Regions from separate parts of the Homo sapiens genome. Here regions 1 and 3 are each linked to region 2. The links are contacts of gene promoters, found by promoter capture Hi-C in human tissues and cell types (Jung and others, 2019). All regions are on one chromosome and are shown on one strand. The core of a region is centred on a gene start or on the middle of the fragment in contact, and the rest is flanking DNA. Distances in the headings are between cores, read along the strand shown.

Region 1 (4,422 bases), core at 982-3,481, 180 kb after region 2:
TAAAAATTAGTCACATACTATGCAACAAAGCAATTCACATATAGATTACATTTTATGACAACATAATTAGAAATCACAAAAAGATTTCTTAAATCTCATGGTTTGGAACTTTAAAAACACATATAAAACAACATATATCCATAAAACAATCATAATGGAAATTTAAAAACCAATACAACTGAATGGTAATGAAAATAATACACACAGAAACTTTCAGGGTGGAGCTAAAGTAACCCTTTGAGGGAAATTTGTAGCCTAAAATGCTTATATTAGACAATAACGAAGGCTAAAAATGAATGTGTTCAGCTTTCAGCATAAAAAGTTTTTTCATTCCTCATAAACACAAAGAAGAAGGAAGGAGGTTATAAAGATAGGAGCAGGAATGAGTGAAGCGGGGGGCATAACACAGGGGAACCACAAAGGCAAAAGTTTGTTCTTTGAAGTGAATGATTAAATAAGCAAGTTGAATAACATAAAGAGAGAAGCCACAATTCAGTGTTAGGGGTGACAAAGGGGACCTGACTGCAGACACATCAGAAATAAAAGAATGTTAGGAGCAATGTGATTCCAATACATTTGAAAACTTAGTTGAAATAGTTGGATTTCAGAAAAGCACAATGCACTAGAAGTGAGTCAAGAAGAAATAAAAAGCCTGAATAGCTCCGTAGTTAGTTGCTGACAAGAAGGACTCTTAAGGAGAAAGGCTGGAGAGTGTGGAGGGAGGGAAAGGCCTGGTGTAAAAGACCTTATGAGGAGCTGATTGGGAGGGAGGCAGGCTGGGGCTGGAGGTGCCGGACCCAGCAGAAGCAGAGAGCACAACTTCTCCACTGTGAGCTCTGGGAGAATGAGAGAGGTGGGGCATATAGAGCCAGTGCAGCTTTGAAGATGCTGTAGGTGCCTCCCACCTGAGATCTGTGTCAGGGCCTGGCCTACCCTTAAAATTTATTTGACCAGCACTTAGAATAGTCCAGGCCCAGATAATTAATACATCAACATGGGGTCTTCCTTCTTGTTTTGTTTTTGGAAATGGAAATTGCTCTATTTTTTCCGTGATAATACTCCATCATTACAAATACGTCATGCACAGGTGCCCAGTGTAGACCAAAAATAAAATTCTAAGTCCTCCAACTGACCAAATGGACCCCCTTCTTGGCCAAGGGGATTCCAAAGAAACCTAAAAATAACAAGTTCAGGTTGTGATGAGAAGGAGGGATCAGACATGCCTCATTACACTCTCCTCTCTTGGGAATTCAGGCACAAAACTGATCAGCATTAACATTAAACAGAAATCTTAAGACAGACCGAACAGACTCTTTGTAGAAATAACAGCAAATTCGAACCTGACTCCAGCATAGCATAGCATAACAGTAGGCTCTGAAAGAAATCAAAGGATTTTACCCCAAAGTATATTTCTTTGACATATTTTGAAATGCCCCTGCAAGGCTGTCTCTTGTGGCGGAAATTTACATTCTGTAGAGAATCCTCCTCCCTTTCCAGGTCTTTTTCTGACCTTGAAGAGATTAGCTGAGAGTCTAGCCTAACATCTTTTAAAGGTTGAATAGCAAACATTTGCCATCTACTGCCTCTAAGGGTGGCCACCTATGAGACTTCAACTACATGCTAACTTTGGTCTCCACAAACTCTTATCTTAACTTAAACACCCTTTCTATTGATTCCAGGTCTTTAGATAATAACTCTTCCAACCAATTGTGAATCAGAAAATCTTTAAATCCACCTATGACCTGGAAGCTTCTGTTTCAGGATGTCCCACCTTTCTAGAACAAATATATACGTCATGTGTATTGATTGATGTCTTAAGTCTCCCTAAAATGTATAAAATCAAGCTGTACCCCAACGACTTTGGGCGCAGGTCCTCAGGCCCTCCTGAGGCTGTGTCATGGGTCATAATCCTTAAACCTGGTGAAGTAAATCTCGAATGATGATGACGCCTAAGTACACCACCACGACAGCCTGGATGCCTGGGCTCGAATCCCACCACTGGTTTAGCTCTGTGACTGGGCAAGTCACCTACTCTCTCTGTGCCTCAGTTTCCTCTTCTGTGCTGGGTGGTGGTTACAAAGGCCTGCATCACTGTCCCTCATCCCCGTCATCAGTGCCATGGGTAAGGGCACACGTCATTCTGTGCTTTCTCTGGTCTGCACTGAGGTCTACACTGAGGTCCCTTCTCTGGGAGCTTCTACTAGGAGTCCTTGAGCCACCAGCATCATCTCTGCAAGCCTGGCACACACCTGGGAGGTGTTGCATAGAGACCCGTGGGCCACGGAGACCAACAGGACCCGTGAGATGTGAACAGCCACTGCCCTCTGCACATGACTGCTGTTCCTCAGCCTGGACCCATGGCCTGGCCTCCACCTCACCTCTCCTTGCCAGGCCTGCTCGGCTTAATCTGCCCACCTCTCCTCCAATGGCTGCCTGTTCCTGGTGCATTGCAGGTACGCACCTGGAGGCAGGGGCAGGTGGCCCCTTCCCAGAACACTCTGTGGCCTCTTTCCCCAGGGCCCCTCTCAGACTTCTCAGCTGTCAGATGCTGATAAGAGCCTCCTCTGAGCATACCTGGTGTGCATACCAGGTTCGGGGGAACCCCTGTACTGCAGGAAACTGCCTGCCCCCCGCCAAAGCCTGCTATAAGGCACGTGGCTTTGGAGAGACTCAGAGGCAGGGGTGAGGCGAGGCCAGGACAGTGAAGAGGGAGGCACCACTGAGGTTTGGGGCCAGGAGTGCTTCTGGCAGCTACAGGCACAGACTGCCTGGAGGATGGCAACAGTTGGGTGGGGGCGCGGACTGGGACTCTTCTAGGGTTGGCCAAGCAGTGGTCCAGGCCCCAGCTGTGTGACCCTGGCCACATCACATCTTAGTGACCTGTTAGTGACCTGGGGTTGGCCCAGAAAGAAATCCCCCACAGCAGCCCCGGGGTGGGGCCTGAGCGCTGAGCCCTTCTCTCCAAGCCAGCAGGGGGCGGGCTCTGGCTGAGAGCCTGAACTTCCTAAACCTCCAAGGGGTACAAGCCCTGGCCCATGCCGCCCAAGCCACCAGCCTTGGCTCAGCGGCCACTGGTGACATCAGCATCCTTCAAGGCTGGCCCTACATGGGTGCCGACTACCACCCGCCTCCACCACCTCCAGGCTCAGCCAGGTCCCCTCTTCCGGGAAGCCATCAAGAGTGGGAGGTCCAGTCCTTGCCCTGCACCCTCCCTGCCTACCCTCAAGGTCCTGTCACCAGACTGTGCCCATCCCTCTCCTCCAATAAAGCAGCCCCTCCAGACCTGTCCCCTCCCTCCTCTTCCCTGCCCTGGTTCCCAAGGCACACCCTTGTCCTTCTGGGAGGTTAAGCGTGGCCCGGTGGAGGAACTGGGCAAAGTCCATGAGAAGCTTCCCCTCTAGGGGCAGGGGGTCCCTCAGCTTAGCAGGGTCAGGGAAAGATCAGGAAGGACACGGAGGAGAGGTGGGGGGTGGGAAGAGAAGGAGCACCCCACCCCTGTGCACACTGCAAGGCAGGAGGGGCCACGCCCAACCCGGAACCCCTGGGAGAGGCCGAGGAGGTTGCTGATGGGGGTGTTGCCTCCTTCCTCCCCCCACCTCCCCTTCCTGGGCAGGGTCCATATGGTGTTCCCAGAGAGCCATACTGAGCCCAGCGACACCTCCTCTGCCTTCCTAGGACAGCTGGGAGCCATCCCCCATTTCTCCAGAGGCTGGTCTGGAGGCTACCATGCTGCCCCCCAGCCCCAGGTGGGGTCCTGCTTCTCCCGGGAGCCAGGCAGGGGCACTGCCCTTTGGAGCCAATGTCCTCTGCGACTTGGGGGAAGGGTCTGAATTTGATTATTCTAAGATTCCGTACGTTTAAATACAAGTTTCTAGGCTAGGAAATGCTTTGATTCCGTAATTATAAATTTCAGGACTCTAATGGGAAGGGCTGCCATCTCTCAGTGGGCTCCGGGTGTCTAGAATGAGCCAGGCTGCCCAGGCCTCTGATCCGGCCGCCGGCCCTCTGGGGGAGACCCTGTGGCCCTGGGAGGGAAGGTTCTGGAACACAGCTGACGTGCGTGGTGATGGTTCAGGCTTCCGGTTCTGCCAAGGCCTTATTTGGAGGAGTTTCCGCTGTGCGTGGGGTGGGCGGCTCGCACGTTCACCAGCTATTCGGAGATGTTCCTCCCTCCCGATTATTTTTAGGACCTGACAAGATACTCCAGAGCCCGCTGCTTCCGACACCTTGAGAAGCGCCAAGTCACAGACTGCTGGCCCTGGAAGGGCTCTCAGCTGGCACCTGTGGGGAAACTGAGGCCCAGACGGGGAGGGTCTGAGGCAGGGCCAGGAGTGGGCCTGGGTGGCCGGGCACCCTGGGAGGAGTCTCACCTGTCTGCCGGTCCCTTCAGGGGCTGCTCTGAGCTGAGCCGGCCAGAGACAC
Region 2 (4,472 bases), core at 1-2,500:
CCCAGGGCCCCAGGTGCCATGCTGCAGGGGCGGTTCTGCCCTGCTGGGAGGAGCGAGCCCTGGGAGGTGCATGGCCCTCCTCTCTCCAACTGCAGAAAGGCCAGAAGGCTTTCAGCTACTCGGCTCAATACCTCAACCCCAAACCCAGGTGACCAGAACCCAGCCCTTCAGCTCTAAGCTGTGTGAAAGGGGGGCTCAGGTCCTCGGGAACTCCTAGGAACCTCTTCTAACTGATCACCTCTCCAACCTATATTCAGGACCAAGGACCAGAGAGGTCAACACTCCAGCCACAGAACAGAGTACCAGGAGAGAGGAGAGGGGTGAACACGAAACCGTGAGGGGCCAGGTTAAGAAATGGCAGGAGGGAAGCACGCTAAGCCCGACTATGAAGAGTTGATTCGGGGACCCTAGGAACCCCCACGAACAAAGGCATCAGTGAGGAATGCCCCCGGTAGAGAGGGAGGGGCGGGAGCGGTAAGAGGCAGGACTCCAGCAGTATCCGAAAGAGGTGCAGGCAGCGGGCCTTCCCTAGGGGAGGGGGCCAGGGACTAGGAGGAGCCCCCGGAGGTCCCACAAAGGCCGTGCTCCGGGGCCAGGGGCGGGGGCCGCTCACCCTGCGCTGGCACAGGTGCTGCACGACGCGCTCGGGTGAGGTGCCCAGCAGGTGCTGCCGGAAGCGCAGCAGCGCGCACACGAAGCCGTCCCGCAGGCTGACAAAGCGCGCCTCCAGGTAGAACGCGCGGTCGTCCCAGCCCAGCAGGCGGGTGCGCACCTCGAAGGGCTCCAGCAGGCGCAGCGAGCGGCGGTGGCGCGCGCACGAGGCCGCCAGCACCGTGTGCGCCCGCAACTCCCTCAGCGCCCCGAGCACCCCGCAGCGGGTCAGGTGCGCGACGCGCGCAAAGTCGGCCTCGCGCAGGTAGCGCGCGTTGTTCATGTGCAGCAGCAGGTCCAAGTCCGAGGGCAGCACGCGGCCCGGGAAGCGCTGCTCAGCTAGCAGGTCACGGACGCGCGGCTGCAGCAGGCGCGCGCGCAGCACGGCGCACGGAAGGCGCACCAGGTACCAGACGTCCAGCAGCGCAAAGACAGCGAGCCCCAGGGCCAGCAACGCCACCAGCAGCCCCAGCATAGCGGCGGCGGCGGGCGCGGGGTCCTGCGGAGTCCGTGGCGCCGGTGCCGGTGTCCGCGGCGCTGGTTACGGTGCCCGCCAGGCCTCCTGGGAACTCACGAGCGCAGCGCGCCCGGAGCGAACCACAGCGCGAGGGCGGCCGAGGGGGAGGGGCCCGGAGCCCCGCCCACCGTGGCGCGACCTTCTCAGCGCCCTACGTGGTCCGTCCCGCCGTCCAGGCCCGCGCCACTTTCGCGTTCCCTGGGGCGGGGCGGGCGGCGCGCTGAGCGCCACAGCGGCACCTGGCGGCCGTGCGCGGCGCTGCAGGCGCGAGGGTGCACGCGCGCCCCGGCGTCTCCGCCTTCCCAGCAGCGCGAGACCCTCGCCAGGCTCTGAAGACGCGGCCTGGCCCTGGCCGTTCGGCCCTTCGTCTGAGCGCAAAGGCTCCAGCACCTCCGCGGCCGAAGCCGCGGGACTTTTCGTGGAAAATGGGACCCAGCCCGATCGCCAGCGGCGCTGCAGCGGACTCTGCGGGAACCTAGCTTCTGCTCCAGGACCTCCAGGGCCACCCCAGCTCGCAGGGCGTTCGCAGCGGCTCAGGGCGAATCACGCTCATGGTCCCCGTGCGCATTTTCAGCCCCAGCCGGTACCTCCTTACTCGCCCTCACGACATTCATTCCACCCCCTAAAGGTCCTGCCAACCCCAGGCTCTTCCCGAGCATTCCCGCCCTTCCTCCCTTTTGAAACCGGAGCAAATCACGGCCGGGCGGAAGCGGGGGAGCCCGGGTGAGAGTCAGTGACTCAGCTGCGGACTCCAAGTGTCGCCGGAGGCCCTGGGGCGCAGGCCCAGCGGGCTGTCGCACAGCTCGGCTGTCCTGTGCCCCTTCCTGACGAGGCTGGGGAGGAAAGGCGGCCCAGAGAAGGCCGGACCAGCTCTCCCCGTCAGCCCCAGGCTCTCGAATGACAGCGGATGCCAGCGACCGGGGATGGGGTCCCGGAATTGCTGGGTTAAACAAGCTCCGGATTCAGGCCTGGGCCTGGGCTGGGGTTCCAGGGTTCTGGACCGCCCTCAAAGAAGGAGCTCCCTGGGGCGGCACCTGGCTCTGCTTGATAGCCCCAGGGACAGGGAGCTCACTACCTATCAGGGCAGCTCCCCCAGTGCCGAGACCAGCTCGGTCCTGGAGACCCTAACCCAGCGGTGCTAGAGGAATTAAAGATACACACAGAAATATAGAGGTGTGGAGTGGGAAATCAGGCGTCTCACAGCCTTCAGAGCTGAGAGCCTCCAACAGAGATTTACCCACGTGTTTATTCACAGCAAGCCAGTGATAAGCACAGTTTCTACAGATTATAGATTAAAAGTACCCCTTAGGGAAACAAAGGGATGGGCCAAAATAAAGGGGTGGGTTTGGCTAGTTATCTGCAGCAGGGGCATGTCCTTAAGTCACAGATGGCTCATGCTATTGTTTGTGGTTTAAGAACGCCTTTAAGCGGTTTTCTGCCCTGGGTGGGCCAGGTGTTCCTTGCCCTTATTCCGGTAAACCCACAACCTCCCAGCGTGGGCATCATGGCCATCATGAACATGTTACAGTGCTGCAGAGATTTTGTTTATGGCCAGATTTTGGGGGCCTATTCCCAACACCCTAGCATTGCTCACACTTGTCCCTGAAGTGTCACCTTGTCGTAGCTGGGCTCTGAGCCCTCTGCCCCAGGGAGGGGTGGCCTTTTGGGCTGAAGGGACTGAGGACATAGCCGTTGAGCCTGTTGGCCATTGCTCAAAGAATGCAGCCTCCTGGTCACCCATGTTGTCCCCTTGCCAACAAAAAGAGTGAAACACTGTGCAATGTTTGAAGAGATTTATTCTGAGCCAAATCTAAGTGACTGTGGCCTGTCACACGGCCTCAGAAGATCCTGAGAACTTGTACCCAGAGTGGTCAGCCTGCAACTGGGTTTTACAAATTTTAGGGAGACATAAGACATCAATGAATACTTGCAGGATGGACATTGGTTTGGTCCAGAAAGGTGGGGACAACTGGAAGTGACAGAGGGACTTCTAGGTCATAGGCAGATTCAAAGATTTTCTGATTGGCAATTGATTGAAAGAGTTAAGTTGACCGGGCATGGTGGGCCATTTCTATAATCCTTGCCATGGGGAGGCTGAGGACCATTTGAGCCCAGGAGTTAGATACCAGCTTGGGCAACATAGAGAGACCTCACTTCTCCAAAAAAAAAAAAAAAAAAAAAGTTATTTTTTAAAGACTTAGCATTAATAGAAAGGAATGTCTGGTTAAGATAAGGGGTCGTGGAGACCAGTGTTTCATGATCAGATGAAGCCTCCAGGTAGCAGGCTTCAGAGAGAATAGATTGTAAATGTTTCTCATCAGACTTAAAGAGTCTGTTCTCTCAGTCTTTAAGGGGTGTGTTGATGTTACTGCTGGTCAGCTGGGCCTGAAATCCAAAGGGAGGAGGGTACAGTGAGGCATATCCAACACCCATTTCCTGTCGTGGTCTGAACTAGTGTTTCAGGTTAACCCTGGACTGCCCTTGGTCAAGAGCAGGGGTGCATTCAGATGGTGGGGGTGCTTAGAATTTCATTTTTGGTTTACACCACTGTGTCCTCTCCTGCCAGGGGAGGGACCCAGAGCTGGAGGCTTAGCCCTGGAGATACCGGTGAAGATGGATGAATGAGAAACCAGTTGGAGCTTCCAAGGTCTCTACCCACCCTCCAGACCTCCTCTGCTCCTGCCCCTGCCCATTCATTCCCAACTTCTGCTCTCCCAGCTCCCCTCCCACCCACATGCTGTTCCCTCCTCTTCCATCTTCCGCTTCCTGGGCCCAGAGACTGGGCAAGATCCCCAGGGCTCTCCTTGCACAGCGAACCTCTCCCAGGGTGCATAGCCTTGCTGCAATCTTACACAGGGAATACATAAGCAAGGAATACTTCTGTCCCTCTTGGACTCTGAAGCCAGAAGGCCAGGGCCTGGTTGGCCTCCTAACTGCTGTGTCCCAGGGCCAGAGCAGTGCCAGACACCCAGCAGTCTTAGCACCCACGAAAGCTGGAGGGACCCACACCTTCCCCATCACTCAGTTGCATCAGTCTAACGCAATGGATTTGGGCAGCTTGTGGTGGTTCACTGGCAGTTTATTGGGGGACTTGAAGGAGTCAAGGTCAAGTGGGGGACTTCTGGGTGCCAGACCTGGCCCTTCCTTGGCCTGGGCTTGGGGTGTCCAAGCCCACAGAGCCATGCAGGGGGAAAGAGCTAGGCAAGCAGGGTGGTTGAGGAGGTCATTAGCGTGGCCTCGAGGGAAAACAATTCCAAGAGGAGCCCAAATTCGAATGTCCCCTGGTGTCATTGAGAATGGAGAG
Region 3 (4,866 bases), core at 1,465-3,964, 170 kb before region 2:
ATGCTAAACTTCGCTGCTGGGGGCATGCAAAGGTGCCAAGCATTGTCTGTTAACTCCGGGAGTTTTAACCCAGAGGAACACAGAGGAACAACTCACCACAGTGTCCAGGCGGGGGTGCGGTTACTGTACTGGAAGCACAAGCCAGTAAGCTTTGCCTGGCAAAGAACAGTGGGGGTTGGGGGACATCACGTGGGCTGTGGTGTGGGTGCATATCAGGAGAACACAGAGCTGTGCCCCCGACAGTGTTTAGGTGGGGATGGGGTTACTGCGCTGGAAACCTGAGCTGAGCCTTGCGTGGTGAGGAGAAGCACAGCAGTCTGGCCATTCCTTGGCACCACAGCTGTGTGCTCTACTGGGGCTATGGCAGCTGGCACAAGGCTGTTCGGGGATCCAAGGCCTGTGAGGCTCCATGTGGGCTTAAGCAGCGCCTCTGCAAAACTCCAGCTAGTTCTCTGTGTCAGTCTGGAGGCCTGGGGGTTGGGGCATCAGAGAGGTTCTCCCATGCCCAGGATTGCAAAGGTCCATGAGGGAAGTATGGATCCCTTGTGGACTCTCATTCACTCAGCCTTTCCCCAAGTTAGGGAGCTTCTCCTGGCTCCATACCGGTAACCTCCTTCCCTGTTCTCATGTCTGCTGAATTCATGAGCACACTGGGTGAGGACAGGGTTGGCTGGGGATAGTGACTGGCTGGTGTTCACGAACAGATTGTCCTATCTACTGGATTATTAAAATCGTCCTCCATCGAGGTCACACTTTGGTAAGCATTAGCATGGGGCAAGCTTCAGTCCTCTCTGTTCTCTGTGGGTTCCCTGCTTGAGGCCCAATCAGGAAGCGTCTCTCAGATGATGAGCTTGAAGAGCTAGTGTTTACTGGCTACCTTGTTTCCTCTCCAGGGAGTGGCACACAATAGCTGCTTCTAGTTGGCCGTCTGGAACTCCCTCCCCAACGTTTTCTGAATATATTTTGGGACTCTGTGGTTTGATACGTATATGTCTACAGTTGTTATATCTTTTGATGAGTCTTCCCTAGAATAAGCCAGAGTTCTCCAGAAATACTGAATCAAGATGAGAGAGGGATTTATTTTACAGAATTAGTTCATGTGAGTGTTTCTGCTGGTAAGTCCAGGATATGCAGGGCAGGCTAGTAGTATGAAGATGCAGAGAAAAGCTAACGTTGAGATCTTGATTCAAAGGCCATCTGGAGGCAGTATTCCTTCTTCCTCAGGAGACCTCCAGCCATCCTCTAAAGGACTTACTAGTTTGGATGAGGCATATCCTCATTCTGGAGTATAATTTACTTTACTCAAAGTCTACTGATTTAAATCTTATTCATATCTAAAAAATTTCTTTTCAGCAACATCTTGACTGGTTTTTGACTTTTATGAAGTGAATTGTGCCCTTCCTCATTTATATGTTGAAGCTCTAGCCCCAAGTGTGACTATCTTTGGAGGTAGAGCCTTTAAGAAGGTAATTAGGATTAAGTGAGGTCACATGTGTGGGGCCTCAATCCAATAGGGCTAGTGTCTTTATTAGAAGAGGAAGAGATACCGGGAGTGCTCATACATGGAGAAAAGGCCACGTGAGCACACAGAGGTAAGACAGCCATCTACGGTCTAAGTAGAGAGGCCCGGGAGAAACAAAGCCTTCTGGCACCACGATCTTGGACTGCTCAGCATCCAGAACTGTGAGAGATAAACGTTTGTCATTTAAGCCACTCAATCCATGGCACTTCGTTACAGCAGCCATAGCAGACTCATGCATTGACTGAAACTGGGTACCATAGCCTAGCCAGATGGAAACCTAAAACCAACCATCACACTCCATTCCTTCTCATCTTGGCTCCCACACACAGCTCCTTAAATCATACTTAACTTTCAAATAAAAATAAAAGCAAGGTCATACTTCACCTAACATGATACAACTGTCCTAATCCTCTCCCCAGAAGAAGCTGCAAAAACCCTTGGTGGTGTTTATTCTTCTTGATATTCTGTACAATAAATACTATGATATAGTCAATGCATCTTATTTTATTTAAAGTTATAAGAGATGAAATAAAAATATATCGTTTTGACGCAGCATTGAATGCAGAAAAAATGCATATCCAAAGAAAGTGTGTATGTATCCCAATAGGAACAAAATGCTTCCCATCCATGATGAAAAAGGCTGGATGTAATAGACCTGCCACAAGGTTGCTGGCTGATCTCCCCAGGGAGCCGTATCATTCTGTGAGCTATCTGTTGGTGTATGCTGCTGGCAGATTGTGCACTCAGCAGGAGTTGTAGCCAGCTTGGCACCATTAGTGCAAAACCACATTGCTGAGCATGCATAACCCCCTTCCCTGTTCCCACATCTGCTTAATTCATGAGCACATTGGGCAATGACAGGCATGGCCGGGGATAGTGACTGGTTTGTGTTCACAAATAGGTCATCCTATCTACTTGATTATTAAAATCCCCCTCTACTGAGATCACGCTTTGGTAAGCATTCACATGGGACACAAATATCCTCACATGTTTTGCCCATTCAGAGAGATCTATCCACATACCTCTTCCTCAAAATCTCTAGTCACCAATTTTACAGTTGTGTTGCTTCCTAGATCCTTACCCCCCAGCGAAATCATTGGCAAAAGCCCATAAATCTGTATATGATTGCATGCATGGCCATTTCTCCCTCCAAGTGTAATGAACAACCAGGCTTAGTGATCAAAGTTCTGCCCACCGGGAGGATTTTCCTCTGCCATTGTCCTTCAGGGACGTCTCGGAAAGTAACTGCATTGCTGTGACTGTCTGTTTTGGGACGATAACGACATCTCTTGCAGAACCATCTCTAAACCTGACTTTAGTTTTCTTTTTCTCTGCCAACGAAATACAGGTAACCACGTAAGGCCATAGGTGCAGGCTGGGGAGAGAAGATGGTGTAGCAGGATTGTGGACAACCTGGACATTAGGGCCACTTCTTCATGTAACCTATTTGTGCTTTCTGGGCCTCCTCGAGGCCAAATGAACATACTCCTTCCATTCATTGATAGAGTGCTGCTGGGTATGTTAAGGCTTAGTGGCTTATGTAACACCCCACGAATCAAAGGCAGTCACGTGGTAACTTAGTGGCCCGTGGTAAAGTGTTTATTCTCTACGAAGACCCAGGAGCAAGCCAAAAGCTCTTTCTCCAAGGAGAGTAGTTATCAGCACAGGTTGATAGAGCTTTGTGCTGCAATTCCAGGGATTTGTGCTGTGATTAACCTACAGGGCCCGACCAAGGCTCCAGAAAGCTTGCCTATCTGCCACTGACACTTCAGTTATTGTTGGATCTGCTAGAAAATGTGGCACAATTAGCAAAGCAGCTTGCATGGTGGCCGGGACCTGTTGCTGAGCCTTCCACTGTCCTGGGTTCCACTCATAAGTAGCAGCACTTTAGGTCAAAAGAAAGTGGGCTGGATCATACTCAGATGAGAAATATGTTACCATGAAAGTCCTAAGAGTCTACTAGGCAATGTACCTCCTTTTTGATTGCAGGAGGGGCCAGATGTTACAGCTTGTAATTCACCTTAGAAGAGATATTTAGGCATGCCCCACACCACCGGATTCCTAGAAATTTCATGGAGGTAGAAGGGCCCTGAATTTCTGTTGGGTTTATTTCCCATCTGTCTTAGTTGATTTTGTGTACTTTAACAAAAACACTAGAGACTGGGTAACTTATAAAGAACAGAAATTTATTTTCCCACAGTTCTGGTGGCTGAGAGTCCAAGATCAGGACATCAGCAGGGTCAGCGTCTGGTGGAGGCTGGGTCTCTGTTTCCAAGCGGCACCTTGAACATTGCATCGTCTGGAGGGGAGGAACAATGTGTCCTCACATGGTAGAAGTCGGAGGGCATAAGGGGGATAAAATCCCCTCTGTCAAGCCCCTTTACAAGGGCACCTAATCCCATTCACGAGGGTGGAGCCCTCACTGCCTAACCATCTCTCAAAGGCCCCATATCTTAATACTATCAAACCGGCAACAACTGGATTTTGGAGGGGACACATTCAAATCACAGCAGCACCCTTTCACACAAATGTCTTTTTTTTTTAATTATTATGCTTTAAGTTCTAGGGTACATGTGCACAATGTGCAGGTTTGTTACATATGTATACATGTGCCATGTTGGTTTGCTGCACCCATTAACTCATCATTTACATTAGGTATATCTCCTAATGCTATCCCTCCCCCTCCCCTCACCCCACTACAGGCCCTGGGGTGTTTTCACACAAATGTCTTAATAATAAGTCTAGAGCAATTGGTACGTCTTGCTCTCTGGGTCTAATTAGCATTATGTTATAAATGTAATCCATCAGTGTGGTATCTTTCAGAAAGGAAAGGTGATCCCTACAAAGTAAATTATGACAAGATGCCTACAAATTAAATTATAATCAGTCTGGAGAGTTAATATATCCCTGAGGAGGACAGTGAAGGTATACTGCTAACCTTGCCAGCTAAAAGCAAACTGCTTCTGGTGTTCGTTACTGGTAGGAATGGAGAAAAGTGCATTTGTCAGCTCAGTAGCTACATACCATGTACCAGGGCATGCGTTCATTTGCTCAAGCAATGAAACCACCTCTGGTACGGTAGCTGCAATTGGAGTGGTGGCTTGGTTAATCTTACAAAAATCTGCTTTTCTCCAAGATTCATCTGTCTTCTGCACAGGCAAAACAGGAAAGTCGAATGGGGATGTGGCAGGAATCTTCACCTGTGCATTTTTCAGGTTCTGACTGGTAGCTCTAATCTCTGCCATCCGTCTAGGAATGTTACGCTTTTGGCTATTTTTCTTGGTAGACACAGTTCTAATGGCTTCTACTTGGTCTTTTCCACTATAATATCTCTCACTGCATAG

Evidence for each region. Contacts are between HindIII fragments. The study calls those that stand out against the background at their distance.
Region 1: a contact is called between a fragment that was not itself captured here and the fragment with the promoter of THEM6 in region 2, in 1 of the 25 tissues and cell types used here (dorsolateral prefrontal cortex).
Region 3: a contact is called between a fragment that was not itself captured here and the fragment with the promoter of THEM6 in region 2, in 2 of the 25 tissues and cell types used here (H1 embryonic stem cells and dorsolateral prefrontal cortex).

What each region holds. Positions count from the first base shown.
Region 1 is chr8:142,549,855-142,554,276 of GRCh38, reverse strand. No RefSeq gene overlaps it. Among named protein-coding and RNA genes, the nearest start is that of ARC, 62 kb to the left of the region's middle. The HindIII fragment of the contact is 3,567 bases long and covers 448-4,014 here.
Region 2 is chr8:142,724,001-142,728,472 of GRCh38, reverse strand. THEM6 (thioesterase superfamily member 6) reads right to left here and starts at 1,250. Exons shown (of 2, transcript NM_016647.3): 1 at 614-1,250. The coding sequence starts at 1,126. LNCOC1 (lncRNA associated with ovarian cancer 1) reads left to right here and starts at 1,500. Exons shown (of 3, transcript NR_038925.1): 1 at 1,500-1,751. RefSeq lists silencers at 505-754, 1,055-1,494 and an enhancer at 1,525-1,744. The HindIII fragment of the contact is 14,450 bases long and covers 1-4,472 here.
Region 3 is chr8:142,899,770-142,904,635 of GRCh38, reverse strand. No RefSeq gene overlaps it. Among named protein-coding and RNA genes, the nearest start is that of CYP11B2, 16 kb to the left of the region's middle. The HindIII fragment of the contact is 4,499 bases long and covers 465-4,866 here.